Regions from separate parts of the Homo sapiens genome. Here region 1 is linked to region 2. The links are contacts of gene promoters, found by promoter capture Hi-C in human tissues and cell types (Jung and others, 2019). All regions are on one chromosome and are shown on one strand. Each heading gives the region's core, a stretch centred on a gene start or on the middle of the fragment in contact. The rest is flanking DNA. Distances are from core to core; before and after follow the strand shown.

Region 1 (6,740 bases), core at 2,755-5,254, 160 kb before region 2:
CTTTACTCCAACTCTACAACACTAAAGGACATGAAGGCTGCAAAACGACTGGGAAGGGCTGCCCCCATACACTCAACTCCTCCAGTTTCTCATGCATCCGTCCACCAAGTTTTACCAGACATTTACTATGTGCCAGGTTCTGCACTGGGCACAGGAGCAGAGGGCCGGTGGAGACACAGTCCCTGCCCCCACAGAGCTCACAGATGGGGCAGGCAGAAGCCACAGAGGCCGTGGTGGTCACGCTTCGGGAGAAAAGAACCACAAGTCAAAGGGGCACAAAAGGGGGCAACCAACTCTATCTGGGATGCTGGAAAGGATTCCTGGGGATGGAGATGACTGAGTGGGAATAGCCCTGATTGGAAGAAGAAAGAGGAAGGGAGGGCATAATGAGAAGGGGGAAAGCATGTGGGGAAACTGGCGTTGATGCTAAAATAGCATAGTCACGCAGGATCTGATAGCAGGATAGCAGATATGCTGCTACTGCAAATGTAATAAGACCAAGAAAAATAGTAAGAGAGGACTTAGGAGTAGTGATAGCAAGTATGTATTGAGCATTGATTGTTCTAGGCACTTTGATGCATTATATCACGTAATCTCACAGTAAACCTAGACTGTGTAGAGTATTGCTAACCAAATATTTTAGACGAGTGAACAGAGGTGCCAATACGTTGCTCAGCTGGTATGTGTGGCAGCCAGGAGTGAAGCAGATCAAGCTGTTACTCTAGTGGTGTTGGAGCAGACATCTAACCTCTGTAAACCTCAGCTTCTTCCTCAGTAAAATAAGGTGACGCTGGGCACAGTGGCTCATGCCTGTAATCCTAGTGGTTTGGGAAGCCAAGATTGATTACTTGAGGCCAGGAATTCTAGACCAGCCTGGGTAACATAGTGAGACCCCATCTTTACAAAAAAAAATTTTAAAAAGGCTGGGCTTGGTGGCTCACACCTGTAATCCCAGCACTTTGGGAGGCCGAGGCGGGCGGGTCACCTGAGGTCAGGAGTTCGAGACCAGCCTGACCAACATGGAGAAACCCCGTCTCTACTAAAAATACAAAATTAGCCAGGCATGGTGGCACATGCCTGTAATCCCAGCTACCCTGGAGGCTGAGGCAGGAGAATCGCTTGAACACAGGAGGCAGAGGTTGTGGTGAGCTAAGATCGTGCTGCTGCATTTCAGCCTGGGCAACAAGAGCGAAACTCCATCTCAAAAAAAAAAAAAAACTATTTGGGTGTGGTGGCATGTACCTGTAGTCCCAGCTACTGGGGAGGCTGACGCAGGAGGATCACTTGAGCCCAGGAGTTCAAGGTTGCAGTGAGCCATGATTGAACCACTACACTCCAACCTGACAGAGTGAGACCCTGTCTCTAATAACAAACAAAAGTAAGATGAAAGGTCATTCTGAGAATGCCAGGGTTGAGGGCTGCACAATGCCATGCTCATGGCAAATGCTAACTGTGGTGGCTGAAGTTCGGTGTGTGTTAGGGAGTAGAAATTGGAAAAGCGGAGGAAATAAGTGAATGAGGGGAGACTGGGTCAGATAATAGGGGCCAGTCTAGTGTGATAAACTAGATGTGTGCATTTTATTCTGAAAGCTGTGATGGACATTGGGAAGTCCAAAATAAATAGTGACATGTTCAGTGTTGTGTTTGAGAAATGTCACTCTGACCACAGAAGGACTTTTGGAAACAGCCAGGTCAGGTGGAGGAGTGTTGTCATAGTCCAGGGTGAGAAATGTGATGATCCAGACTAAGAAGAGACAGTTATAAGAGCTGTCGAGGACAAAGAGATAACACAGTTTCTGAATATAGGGACGTGGGGTTGAGGGAGGAAGAGGAGGCCAGGATGCTGCCCAGATTCCTGGCTTTAACGCTGGGGAATGGTGCAGTCCATCCACTGAAGCAGGAAACACAGTAAGAGGAGTGTTAAATTGCATCCCACCCCCACCACTCCAAATTCATATGTTGAAGCCCTAACCCCCAGTACCTCACAACGTCACTTTATTTGGAGATAGGGTCTTTACAAAGGCAATCGAGTTAAATTGAGGTCACTGGAGTGGGCCCTCATCCAATATGGCTGGTGTCCTTATGAGAAGGGGAAATTCGGACACAGAGTGTCATAGAGAGAAGACGGCGTGGAGAGACGCAGGGAGAATAGGCACATCTACAAGCCGAGGAGAAAGGCCTGGAATAGATCTTTCGCTCACATCCCTCAGAAGGAACCAACCCTGCCAACACCTTGATTTTAGACTTTGAGCCTCCAGAACTGTGAGAAAAGGAATTTCTGATGTTTAAGCCACTGGGTCAGTAGAACTTTGTTACAGCAGCACTAGGAAACTGACTTAGGGAGTAACTCATTCAGAGATGGCCACGAGTTAGGTTTTGGATCAGTTGAGTGTGATGTGTCGCTTTTGGGACAGCCAGGTGGAGACAAATGCCAAAACGATAGAGACCCAAGTCCAGGACTCAGTGGGCAGCTTGGGACCGGAGATTAACACATGCCAATCATTTTGGACACTCTGGCATTCATAGCACAGTGCAACCAGTACAGAATAGAAATTTGAAAAATAGTTGAATGAATAAATGAATATCCTATTTGCCTAAGGACAGAGGGCGAAGGGAATACAGGGAGACTGGAACTAATTGTAATTTCCCATCCCAGTAGTAAGAAGGTTATCTCAAGCGCTGTCCATAAGGAGCTATAACTATGACATATCTGAGGCCAGCAAATTTTAGAGAATTGCTGCATTGGTTGCTGATATTTACCCTCCCTAGAAAAGATAGTCCTCTCTTTGCTTTATAAAATCTAGAAGGCAGGAGAATTAAACAAGTATCAATGCTATTCTTAGGACAGAAAACTATAGCCTGTCCAGAGTCTCAGGTTCATGCCCATATTCTGAAATGTTGACCTCCAAGGGAGTGTGCCAGCAACATGTCTATTTTAGGTAGGAAGTTTAAAGCCTGCTTTGCTTAAAATGTCAAAATAAGTAGACAGCATAACAATGGAAAGTGGTAATAAGTGGAAACCAGGAGACCTTACTTTGAATCCCAGATTTGCCTCTGAAAAAGTGGGTAACCTTAACCTTTCTGAATGTCTTTTCCTTTATCTATAGAGCAGTCAGGGGAGGGGGTAATTGGATGATCTTCCAACTCTGACATTCTGTGATTCTCTCAGTGTTGCCTTTAATTGCAACGGGTGATAAGATGACATTTCCATAAATTGACCTGCCAACCTGATTTAGTCCGCCAGCATGAAGACATGAAAATAAGATGATAGGCAGAAATTAACATCACAGATGACGCTGGTAGAATATTTTCCCTCCTTAAAATGGCAGATGGAACACCAGAAAGAGACAACACTTGGCTTTAGAATGCACCTTAGTTACCAGAAAACTGGGTTTTACTGGAAAATGCCTGAATATACATGACCACAACATTTTGTCCAATGACTTCAAGTTTGACCATACTGAAAAACGATATGGAAAAATAAACCTGCTCCTAACTGCATTTGTGATTTCCCCTGGACCACTTAATATTTAAAACTTGTGTTGACCTCTTCTCTATATGCCTGGACATCTCGGCAATGGATATAATAAGCCCCTAAGGGGGAAAGGTAATTAGGATTTATTATCTAAGTGTCACATTTTGTGCCAGGTCTTTGACCTGTGTTGCAAAATACCTTATTTACACTTCCCTGTAGAAGATGCTGTCAGCCACATCCTATCTTTTCTGCACTTAACATGCCGAAGGTTGCTTAGGACTTCTGTCTGCTGTGGGAGCCCACTTGACTGGAAGAAGCCAGATAGGCACAAGAATTACTATTGCAGAAGCAGCCCTCAACAAGTATCAGATGCAAATGTGCTGGATAAATACTCCGGCTTCCTTGCTCATGGTTGGGATAACTCAGAGGCGTATTCTACACTTGCTCACAGGGTTCCCCAGAGGGATTGAGCTCCAGTTACACATGGTAGATATGGCCTTGATAACACATCTTTTATTGGCTGCCTTCTTTTACTGTCTTAATACCTTGTTATTTCCGGAGATCATTGTCCAGGTAAAATACCTACATCCAAATCGTTATCTTAGGTTCGGCTTCTGGGGTACCCAAACTAAGACATCTGCAAGAGCGCTGTGAAGTAGGTGGCATTGTAAGATATCAGTTTTTAAGTCTTGGTGCTTGGATTCGCCTGATTCCCATTGACTTTCCTCTATGCCAGTGATTCTTAACCACAGGACATTTTGTCCTTCCACCAAGGCGACACTTTGCAATGTCTGGATACATTTGTGGTTGTCACAACTGGGAGGATGCTACTGGCATGTAGTAGGTAGAGGCCTGGAGGGCTAAACATCTGACAATGCATAGTACAGTCTCCTACCACAAAGACTAATCCAACCTTAAAAAGGCCCCCCGGGCACAGTGGCTTGCGCCTGTAATCCTAGCACTTTAGGAGGCTGAGGCGGGTGGATTACCTGAGCTCAGGAGTTCGAGACCAGCCTGGGCAACACGGTGAAACCCCATCTCTACGAAAAATACAAAAAATTAACCGGGCATGGCAGCATGTGCCTGTAGTCCCAGCTACTTGGGAGGCTGAGGCAGGAGAATCGCTAGAACACAGGAGGTAGAGGTTGCAGTGAGCCGAGATCGCACCACTGCACATTGCACTCCAGCCTGAGTGACAGAGTGAGACTCCATCTCTAAAAAAAAAAAAAAAAAAAAAAAAGTCAATAGTGCCGATGGAGAAATCCTGCTCTACACCCAGCAAGACTGGCTATGATCTGGTGGCTCCTATGTGTGACATAGCTATTGTCTTTTCCTTCCAGGGTCAAGCTGTGGCTCAGCTGTGTTCCACTGTCCCCAACGTGACTGTCTTTGGAACAGCCTCTACTTTCAAGCATGAAGCAATCAAAGACTCTGTGACCCACCTCTTTGACAGAAATGCAGACTACGTGCAAGAAGTTAAAAGGTAAGATGTTTGCTTTTGAAAAAGCACCAGGCTGGCCCTTGCTCTGCTCTCAAAGAGCAGTAGCACTTATTTAAAAGAGGGATAATAATAATATGTAGCAAACATATATTGGGGGCTTAGTATTATTAGCTCTGTGCCAAATATTTCACACGCATTAGTTCATTTAATCCTCTTAACCTCACTATTATCACCAAGGAACGAATCGGCTAACTTGGAAAGTTAATGTATTAAAGTTACGCTAGCTCCTATTTGACCATCTTAACACATGGAAGTTTATTTCTCATTCATTCACATGATAGCTTAAGGTGGATATTTGGTGGATGATCTTCTGTAAGAGCATTCAGAGACCCAGGCTCTTTTCATCTTATGGTTCCACTATTGTCTTGGGTCTAAAGGTCCTTTGCTTCTAGCCAACAGATGGGCAGACAGCACCAAAGGGTCATGAATAGGAGGTTTTATGGGCCAGTCCCAGAAAGAACACACACCCTTCTCATAGTCTAGCACTACTGCTCAGGTCGTTGGCTACGCCTTACTGAAAGCAAACTGAGAAACCTTGTCATTGGGTGCACCCAGAAAGGCCTGGCACTGGCAGTAAAGGGTGGAGCCTGGAGTCAAGCCAGGCATTTCAACTTCGGAGCCCGTGATTTTCCTGTATAGATAGCACCTCTCTGAACAGTGAAGCATGAGCCAGAATTATCCATAGGAAGAAAGGGGCAGGGAGGGGGCTGCTCTGGGAAAGGAAAGTCGTGTGCATGCATACTGAGGAATGCAAGAGCCTCAGAGGCTGGGAGAACTACAAGAAGGCTTACTGGGGTGCAAGTCCAGGGATGTCTTGTTATCTCATCTAATTATAGGTGTTGGCAAAGGGACACCTGGGGGGAAAGGGAAGAAGGGGCATGAGGTGAGGCTGAGCAAGGAGACAGGTATCAGATGCACATAAAGACCATGTACACCAATCCAGCAAATGTGGACTCCAACCTGGGTGTGACCAAGAGCCACTGACAGACTAAAATGGGGCTATGATTGATTTGAGTTTTGAACAATCACTGGTGGTGCAGAGGGGATGGATGGGTAGAGGGAGGCTGGGGCTGCAAGATCATTTGCTGGCTGTTGCAGTCACCTGGGGGAATGATGGTTTATAACCTGTGATTCTGAAGTTATTGATCATGGCCACATGTTTGTCAGCACAGGGAAGCAGATGGAAACCCAGCTGCCATCATGGTTTTAGATGATTTTGTGTGTCTCACTCTGGCTATTGCTCTGGGCCCCAGGCTTGTTCTCAGGGTCCATGCCACTCAGAGCTTCCGAGAGGATTCAGATTTGGGCCAGAGCCATTGTTTCGGCATTCTCATTTTCCAACACAAAATTGTTACGTACAAAGGTATTACGTTGTCCAGATAGAATCATAATAAAGAAACAAGGCTGGGCACAGTGGCTCATGCCTATAATCCCAGCACTTTGGGAGGCCAAGGAGGGCAGATCACTTGAGCCCAGGAGTTTGAGACCACCCTGGCCAACATAGTGAAGCTCGATCTCTACCTGTGCCCCCCCACAAAAATACAAAACGTAGATGAGCATGGTGATGCATGCCTGTAGTCTCAGCTACTCAGAAGGCTGAGGTGGGTGGATCGCTTGATCCCGAGAGGTAGAGGTTGCAGTGAGCTGAGATCATGCCACTGCACTCCAGCATGGGTGACAGACAGCAAGAGCCTGTCTCAAAAGGGAAACAATTTTCTTCAAATCACAGATTAAGATGGGAAAACTGAAGGACAAGTGGATGGG
Region 2 (7,351 bases), core at 193-2,692:
TCTAAATTCCTCCCTCTCGGCTATTCCTGTAATGCAAGTCCATTGCTTTTGATGCAAAAGCCTATCAGGTCCCGAAAACTTGCCCTTAAAGCCTATGGTTAAAGGTAGGAATAATTGAGTTTCTCATTACATTAATTTTATTTTTATTTTTTATTTGAGAAGGAGTCTGGCTCCGTCGCCCAGGCTGGAGTGCTGTGACAAAATCCCGGCTCACTGCAACTTCTGCCTTGTGAGTTCAAGCGATTCTCCTGCCTCAGCCTCCAGAGTAGCTGGGACTACAGACTCCTGCCACCACGCCCAACTAATCTTTTTGCGTTTTTTAGTAGAGACAGGGTTTCCTCATGTTGGCCAGGCTGGTCTCGAACTCCTGACCTCAAGTGATCCACACACCTCAGCGTCCCAAAGTGCCGGGATTACAGGCGTGAGCCACCACGCCCGGCGAGTCTCTCACTAGGTTTCTGTGCTATTACATCATGCACTTGAAAGTGTTGTTTAATGTGTTCAAGGAAAAATGATTGGTGAGGACCTGAAAAAATAGCTATTGATCTATTACATTAATTCTTATTCTAATGGAAATAATTCACTTTTTAAAATTTTCTTTTCACTGTAAGGTACATTTTCCCAAGAAAGTAATTTGCCCGGGCTGGAGGGCAGTGATCTCGAACTCCTGGGGCTCAGGTGATTCTCACACCTCAACCTCCCAGGTAGCTGGCATTACAAATGTGTGCCACCATGCCTGATGAATTTTTTTATTTTTTTGTAGAGATGGTGTTTCGCCATGTTGCCCGTGCTCTTCTCGAACTCCTGACCTCAAGGGATCCACCCACTTCGGCCTCCCACTGGGACTACAGGTGTGAGCCACCACATGCAGCCCCAAGGAAGTAATTCTTGATGAGTCTACAAAATCCTAATGGAGGAAAGCCCTATATTTTATCATCGAGTATCTATTTCCGCAATCTCCATAAATCCCACTGAGAAAACTACTTCCAAGCTACACTTGAGCTGCGCAGACACATGAGTATGAGTAGACACACTGGCTTGAATGGTGCTGTGGCACCACACACACACACACACGCAGTAACTTTCCTTTTTCTCCAATTTTTTTTTTGCCCTGAAAACTAAATTGAATCCATTTTCCAGAACATTTAGTGAATTTCAGAGTTCCAAATCAAAGAATTTTTCACAAAGACCCCAATCTTCTCAGAGTTTAAATTTAAAAAAAGAAAGCAGGCTAAACCTGTAGTTAAGTTTGACACACTCCAAAAAGGCAAATCACTAGGAAATGCAGCAGAAATTAAATAAATAGAAAGCCTAACATGAGGCACAAGAACAAGAGGCCACCTTATGCTGTGGCCAGCAGAGGCATTCAAACATTCCGTCAGCAGGATTCCAGCCAACCTCCGAAGCTCACTTTTATAAGCCAGCCCCAGGCATCCCAGAGCAAGATGTAGCTGTGTAGTCTCCTTCCATAGCTGCTCTAAGGGGGCTGGCAACATGGCTCAGCAGGCTTGCCCCAGAGCCATGGCAAAGAATGGACTTGTAATTTGCATCCTGGTGATCACCTTACTCCTGGACCAGACCACCAGCCACACATCCAGATTAAAAGCCAGGAAGCACAGCAAACGTCGAGTGAGAGGTAATGGGGCTTCTCAATCAAGCAAAATTCTAGGCTTAGACAGTGTGGGGAGGTGCTGGACAATGTTAATTTTCAAACTCCTCCAGGAGACTATCTTCGGTGATGGCACCATGCCATCATCCCTATATGGCATTTCAGGGGATTAAGTGAACTTGTAATGCTCTGGGATAGTTTATTTTAAAGAAACCAGGCTGCTGGGTTTTAAAAAAAAACAACAGGGAAAAAATTTGATAGTAAAAGAATTCTGTGTTGTATATTTTTTGTTAGGTGGGCTTAAATAGAATGTGCTTCAGAGGAAGCTCAAGTGGATTTCTGAAAATCTGGTGTTATTAATATGGGGCAAGAAGAATGTATTAACTGAGCACACTGTTTCACTAGTAGATATTGAGTAACTCAATTCAGTTATATTTTAAGATAACTATAATCTTATTCAATGTGTAGCAGAGGATAGAGATTTTGGTAATGGTGACTTCCTGTTTTGTCATTAGTTATCATTAGCTGTATTTCCATATCCTTGGCAGCATAAGGACAACCTATACCATATATTTAAACTTTTTCATGTCAGAGACATTGAATCTCTCCAACTTAAAAAAGTCAATATGCAAAGTCATCTAGTATTTGAAGGCATTGTGATGCAAAACTGAATCTCCCAGGAACCTCAAATTTTGAGTGACTTGAATTGGGTTAACAGGTTAAAGAAATTGAAAAGAACAATGATGATAGCGAGGTGTTTGCAATACGTTGAAACCTAAGCAAAAGAAAAAAACAAGACAGAGGGTCATGTTTTATCACATCCTCTGCATCATTTTCATTTCAGGATATTTCAGATTATGACTATTTCCTTATTTTCACTCCATTAGTAACAACACACACATACACAAATTTCAGCAAGGTTACAGTCTATTTCACATGACAGATGGCTGGTGGGTAAAAAGGGGTCTTGTGCTTTAAGGATTATAAAGTACCATTTTTTCAGGGACATTTATTTACAAAATTTAGGTCTGGTGCAAGGTTTCTTTTTTTTTTTTTTTTCTGAGACAGAGTCTCGCTCTGTCGCCCAGGCTGGAGGGCAGTGACACAATCTTGGCTCACTACAAGCTCCACCTCCTGGGTTCACGCCATTCTCCTGCCTCAGCCTCCCAAGTAGCTAGGACTACAGGCGCCTGCCACCACGCTCGACTAATTTTTTGTATTTTTAGTAGAGACGAGGTTTCGCCGTGTTAGCCAGGATGGTCTCGATCTCCTGACCTCGTGATTCGTCAGCCTCGGCCTCCCAAAGTGCTGGAATTACAGGCGTGAGCCACCGCGCCCGGCTAGTGCAAGGTTTCTTAAGTGGAATCTTTTTTCCTTAAGAAATACTGTACTTCTTTCGGTGAAAGATTAAAATATTTCTCATGAGTAGATGAAACATATTGCTGAAGATGGTATCGAAAGGAGAGGGGAGAGAGAAGATACTGGGTGACATGGTACATTTCTGTAGCCAGCGTTTCTTCACTGCTGGATGGAGTGGCACTCCTCGTGAGAGTGGCGATCACCCAGTAGGAATGTGTGAAGAGGGTCTGAACATGACTGAGTGTGCATGTGGGTGCTGTGTGGGTGTTTCTGAAGTAATCGCAGCTTAGGTCACATCCAGGTTTTCCAGGGGCCTCCCTCCCCTTCCTCCTCCCACTCTCTTCTCTCTCCCTACCTTCTTTCCCACTTCTTTACCCCCTTCTTCCCCACTGCCTCTGTCATAACCACATGTGCATGCACATGCTTTTATTTAAAAACAAAACAAAACAAAACTGACTAGGTACACACCTCTTAAATGTCATTCCCCCAGTATAGTTTTTGCTACTTTTTGCCATTAGGTCCTAGAAAGTAGATTCTACAGTAGGTGAAGCAATAAACCTAAACCGATCAAGCAATTATATCCCCACCCATCCATATACTTTTAAAATAGTTTAAGTACCTTGAAATATAATAATACCAGTGTTAAAGAGATCAAAAGTGAAAGCCATCTTCTCTCTCCCAATCCTCACCACAAAATTATCCACTATTAACTATCAGGTAATACTATTCCCAGAAGTTTTGTGTTTTGTTTTTTGTAGGATTGTTTGTTTTGAGACAGAGTCTCACTCTGCCACCCAGGCTGGAGTGCAGTGGTGTGATCTCGGCTCACTGCAACCTCTACCCACCAGGTTCAAACAATTCTAGTACCTCAGCCTCTCAAGTAGCTGGGACTACAGGTGCTCGCCACCATGCCCAGCTGATATTTGTACATACATCTTTTTTAGTATAGATGGGGTTTCACCATGTTGGCCAGGCTAGTCTCAAACTCCTGACCTCAGGTGATGGGATTGCAGGCATGAGCCATCATACCCAGCCTATTCCCAGAGTTTTTAAAATGCACAATTAAAATACATATTTTTAACAAAATAAGAATTGGCTATGCAGAATGTTTGGCTAGGCAAATAAATTTATTTCATCTATTAAACCTTGGATAGTTACCAGTGTAAGCAATACTTTATTCATTTTAACAGCTGCATAATATTCCATTGTTTGGATGGGTCATCACTTAATCTGATCTCTCCCAATACATCTCTTTTTGATTCAATAGCCCCAAGTAACTGCTTTGCACACATACTGCTCCCCATGTTAGGATGTTATGAGACATTTCCAGAAGTAAAATTGCAGGTTAATTATACTTTCTAATTGTCCCTCCAAATGATAACACCAATCCATCTTCCCATCTTCTGTGTATGGGAGTGCCCATTCCTATGTATTTTGACAGTCCAACATCATATAATGGTTTTACTGGCCATGTCTTCTGGGAATGACTTTTGTGTTTCTACACTGTGTCTACCTCTGGAGAGCAACAGTAAAATGAAAGGGAGCCTTCTGGGGGACTCAAAATAGCAACCGAAGAATTTAGCTTCAAACACAAGATCTCTCTGGTACTTGCTTCATAGGTCTCAATTTATGTGTTGCATTCATGAATAAAATATGACTTTTCCAGCTCAGTAGTTGTTCCACATATTCCCTTTGTTTGTTGTACATAAAAGACATCTATATCAGCTACAAAGGATGGAAGCTACAGCCAAGTCCCTGGACAATGAATTTCATAACCATCTCCCAGGAGCCTAATATCAATTCATGTGTCTTCATGTTAATTACAATGTTTACAATCTCCCAGTAGAGGCCACTTATTTAAGGAGAATGGAGCAGGAAGCTGAGAGGGATGGGGGATGACATTTTTAGAGGTGACAGCTTATACCTTGGAAGAAAGTGTTCAGCAGTCTTTGCAAGCCCGGCCCCCACCAGCTGATGAATTTGCATTCTGAATGCACCCTTACATTTTTTCTGGATTAAATGGTCACACAGGTAAAAATCTTTAGGTTATAGTATTTCTGAGCTGAGCCATGGGATGCTTTGAGAACTGATGTGTAGCATTAAGTAAAACAGAGGCAGGGGCCACCCCTGGATATTCCAGAAGACAGCTTCCTAACCCAAATGAGGAAACATCTGGCTTATGAAGCACATGTTTAAGGGGACAGTGAATTAGCACATGTGAATTTTAGACTGTCCTGAAAAATCCAGTACAGAACATAGACTTCCTCCATGGAATCCCCACAAAGAAGCAGCTGGGAACAGTTCATACCAAGCTTTAAGTATCTTCTCTGTCTGGGGCCATGTGCTCGGGACCAAGAAGGTAGAGGCAATCACTGTGCAGAAGCAGGTAAGAGGGATGAAATGAGAACAGGCCTGGAGCTGGGCAAATTTAAATCCCAATTCTTCACTTTACTAGCTGGGTGACCTTCAGCAGGTGAATTCAGCTTTCCGGGACTCTTTCTTCTGCAGAATGGAGACAATGATTGTGTCTCTCTCAAAGCACTACTGAAAGAATTGATCTCTGACAAACAGTATGTGGAAGCTTTTAATAATTTTTGTTATGATTTATAATTCCTGCTTTTGAAGACCTCACAAGCTGCCAATCTCTAAGAGAATCCTTATTACACCTGAAATTTCAATTTATCCAAGGCTTCTTGTTTTCTGCCACTTACTTATAGCCAAGATTGGTCAAGGACAGCTATAAAGATCCTTTAGCCTCATCCAGGAACATACAAGACTTAAGTTGCTAATACCTAATATAGACGTATTTCTATATGAACCTTTAGCACTTAACCCTGCTAGTAGCCACCATACCTGAGGCATGTGTTGAGTCGGAACACTGGGGACAGGGGACCTGGGGACCCAAATCAGTCAGAGTATGAATTCTGCCATGTATCTTTTGAGACACTCTCATTGGACTTGTCCTCATTCTTCAGTGGGAATCCAATTTTTCTCCCTTCATAGCTATGTTTGAAGAGCAAGTGAAAACAATTTTGTATACCATAAAGTGTGTATTCACTAGACAATATTATGAACACCTATTATGTACCAAGTATCATGTTAAGCATCAGAAGAACCAAGAATAATAAGACAGATGAAATAAAGTAAAATAGAGAAAAGAAAATATACAGAATACTCTATAAAATATGGAATAAAATAAAATGTGAACTGAGACTAGAGAATGAAGAAAAATAAGTTTCAAAGACAGATTAGCAGAAGGGATACTAAATTATAGTATAACCAGGAAAGCCTTCTCAGAAGAGGAGATATTTAAGCTTGCTAAGAATACAGGAAAGCGCTGGAGCAAGAGTGATCCTAGCAGAAGGAACACACAGGGAAGATGAGATTGAGCTCATTCTCAGATGACCCTGAAAGTCAACAAGCCTAGAGTCACAGGATGTGACTGGAGAGACAGAAGGAGCCTCATCTCACAGAAGGACCTTCTAGTATTATGATTGCCATGAAGCTCTTAAGAATCTTCCTGTCCAAGTTATTTTCTTTTTCTTTTTTTCCTTCCTTCTTTCCTTCATTCATTGTTTTTTTGTTTGTTTGGTTTTTTTTCAGACAGAGTTTCACTCCCTCACCAAGGCTGGAGTGCAGTGGAATGATCTTTGCTCACTGCAACCTCTGCCTCCCAAGTTGAAGCAGTTCTCATGCCTCAGCTTCCCAAATAGCTGGAATTACAGGCATTCAACACCATGCCCAGCTAATTTTTATACTTTTAGTAGAGACAGGGTTTTGCTATGTTGGCCAGGCTGGTCTCGAACTCCTGGCCTCAAGTGGTCCACCCGCCTTGGCCTCCCCAAGTGCTGGGATTACAGGCGTGAGCCACTTCGCCAGCCCCAAGTTATTTTCACGCATTATTTTTTGTATACACTGGGCTCAGGTTCACCAAAACCACTATTGCCTTGGGTCCTACATTCCAAAGCTTGATTTTATTTTAATCATACGCTTTTCATCCACCTACCCCATCCCACCCTAAAATTTTCCCCAGACAAGGATGGAGATCTGAAGACTCAAATTGAAAAGCTCTGGACAGAAGTCAATGCCTTGAAGGAAATTCAAGCCCTGCAGACAGGTAAGGTGCAGACCTTCTCAGTGCCTTGTCCCAAAGGAGACAGGAAAATTTCTGGGTCAATTTCTGGGGGACGTCTTTTTAAAAGAAACATTGACAAATCAATAATGTGGCCAATAAGAGGGCCCCAATGCCGGGAGATGATTGTTTTAGGAAATCAGCTTCATTTACAATCCCATTCTCCTATATATGGGTGGTATAGAAATAAAAATAAGTAGTTCAGGAATAAATTTGAAAAGTCAGTCCATACTTATTCTCTAAAGAGTAGT

Evidence for each region. Contacts are between HindIII fragments. The study calls those that stand out against the background at their distance.
Region 1: a fragment that was not itself captured here is called in contact with the fragment with the promoter of CLEC3A in region 2 in 3 of the 25 tissues and cell types used here (aorta, liver and pancreas).

What each region holds. Positions count from the first base shown.
Region 1 is chr16:77,857,933-77,864,672 of GRCh38, forward strand. VAT1L (vesicle amine transport 1 like) reads left to right here. Exons shown (of 9, transcript NM_020927.3): 4 at 4,816-4,958. Among named protein-coding and RNA genes, the nearest start is that of VAT1L, 73 kb to the left of the region's middle. The HindIII fragment of the contact is 6,734 bases long and covers 638-6,740 here.
Region 2 is chr16:78,021,106-78,028,456 of GRCh38, forward strand. CLEC3A (C-type lectin domain family 3 member A) reads left to right here and starts at 1,443. Exons shown (of 3, transcript NM_005752.6): 1 at 1,443-1,636; 2 at 7,002-7,085. The coding sequence starts at 1,522. The HindIII fragment of the contact is 19,144 bases long and covers 1-5,915 here.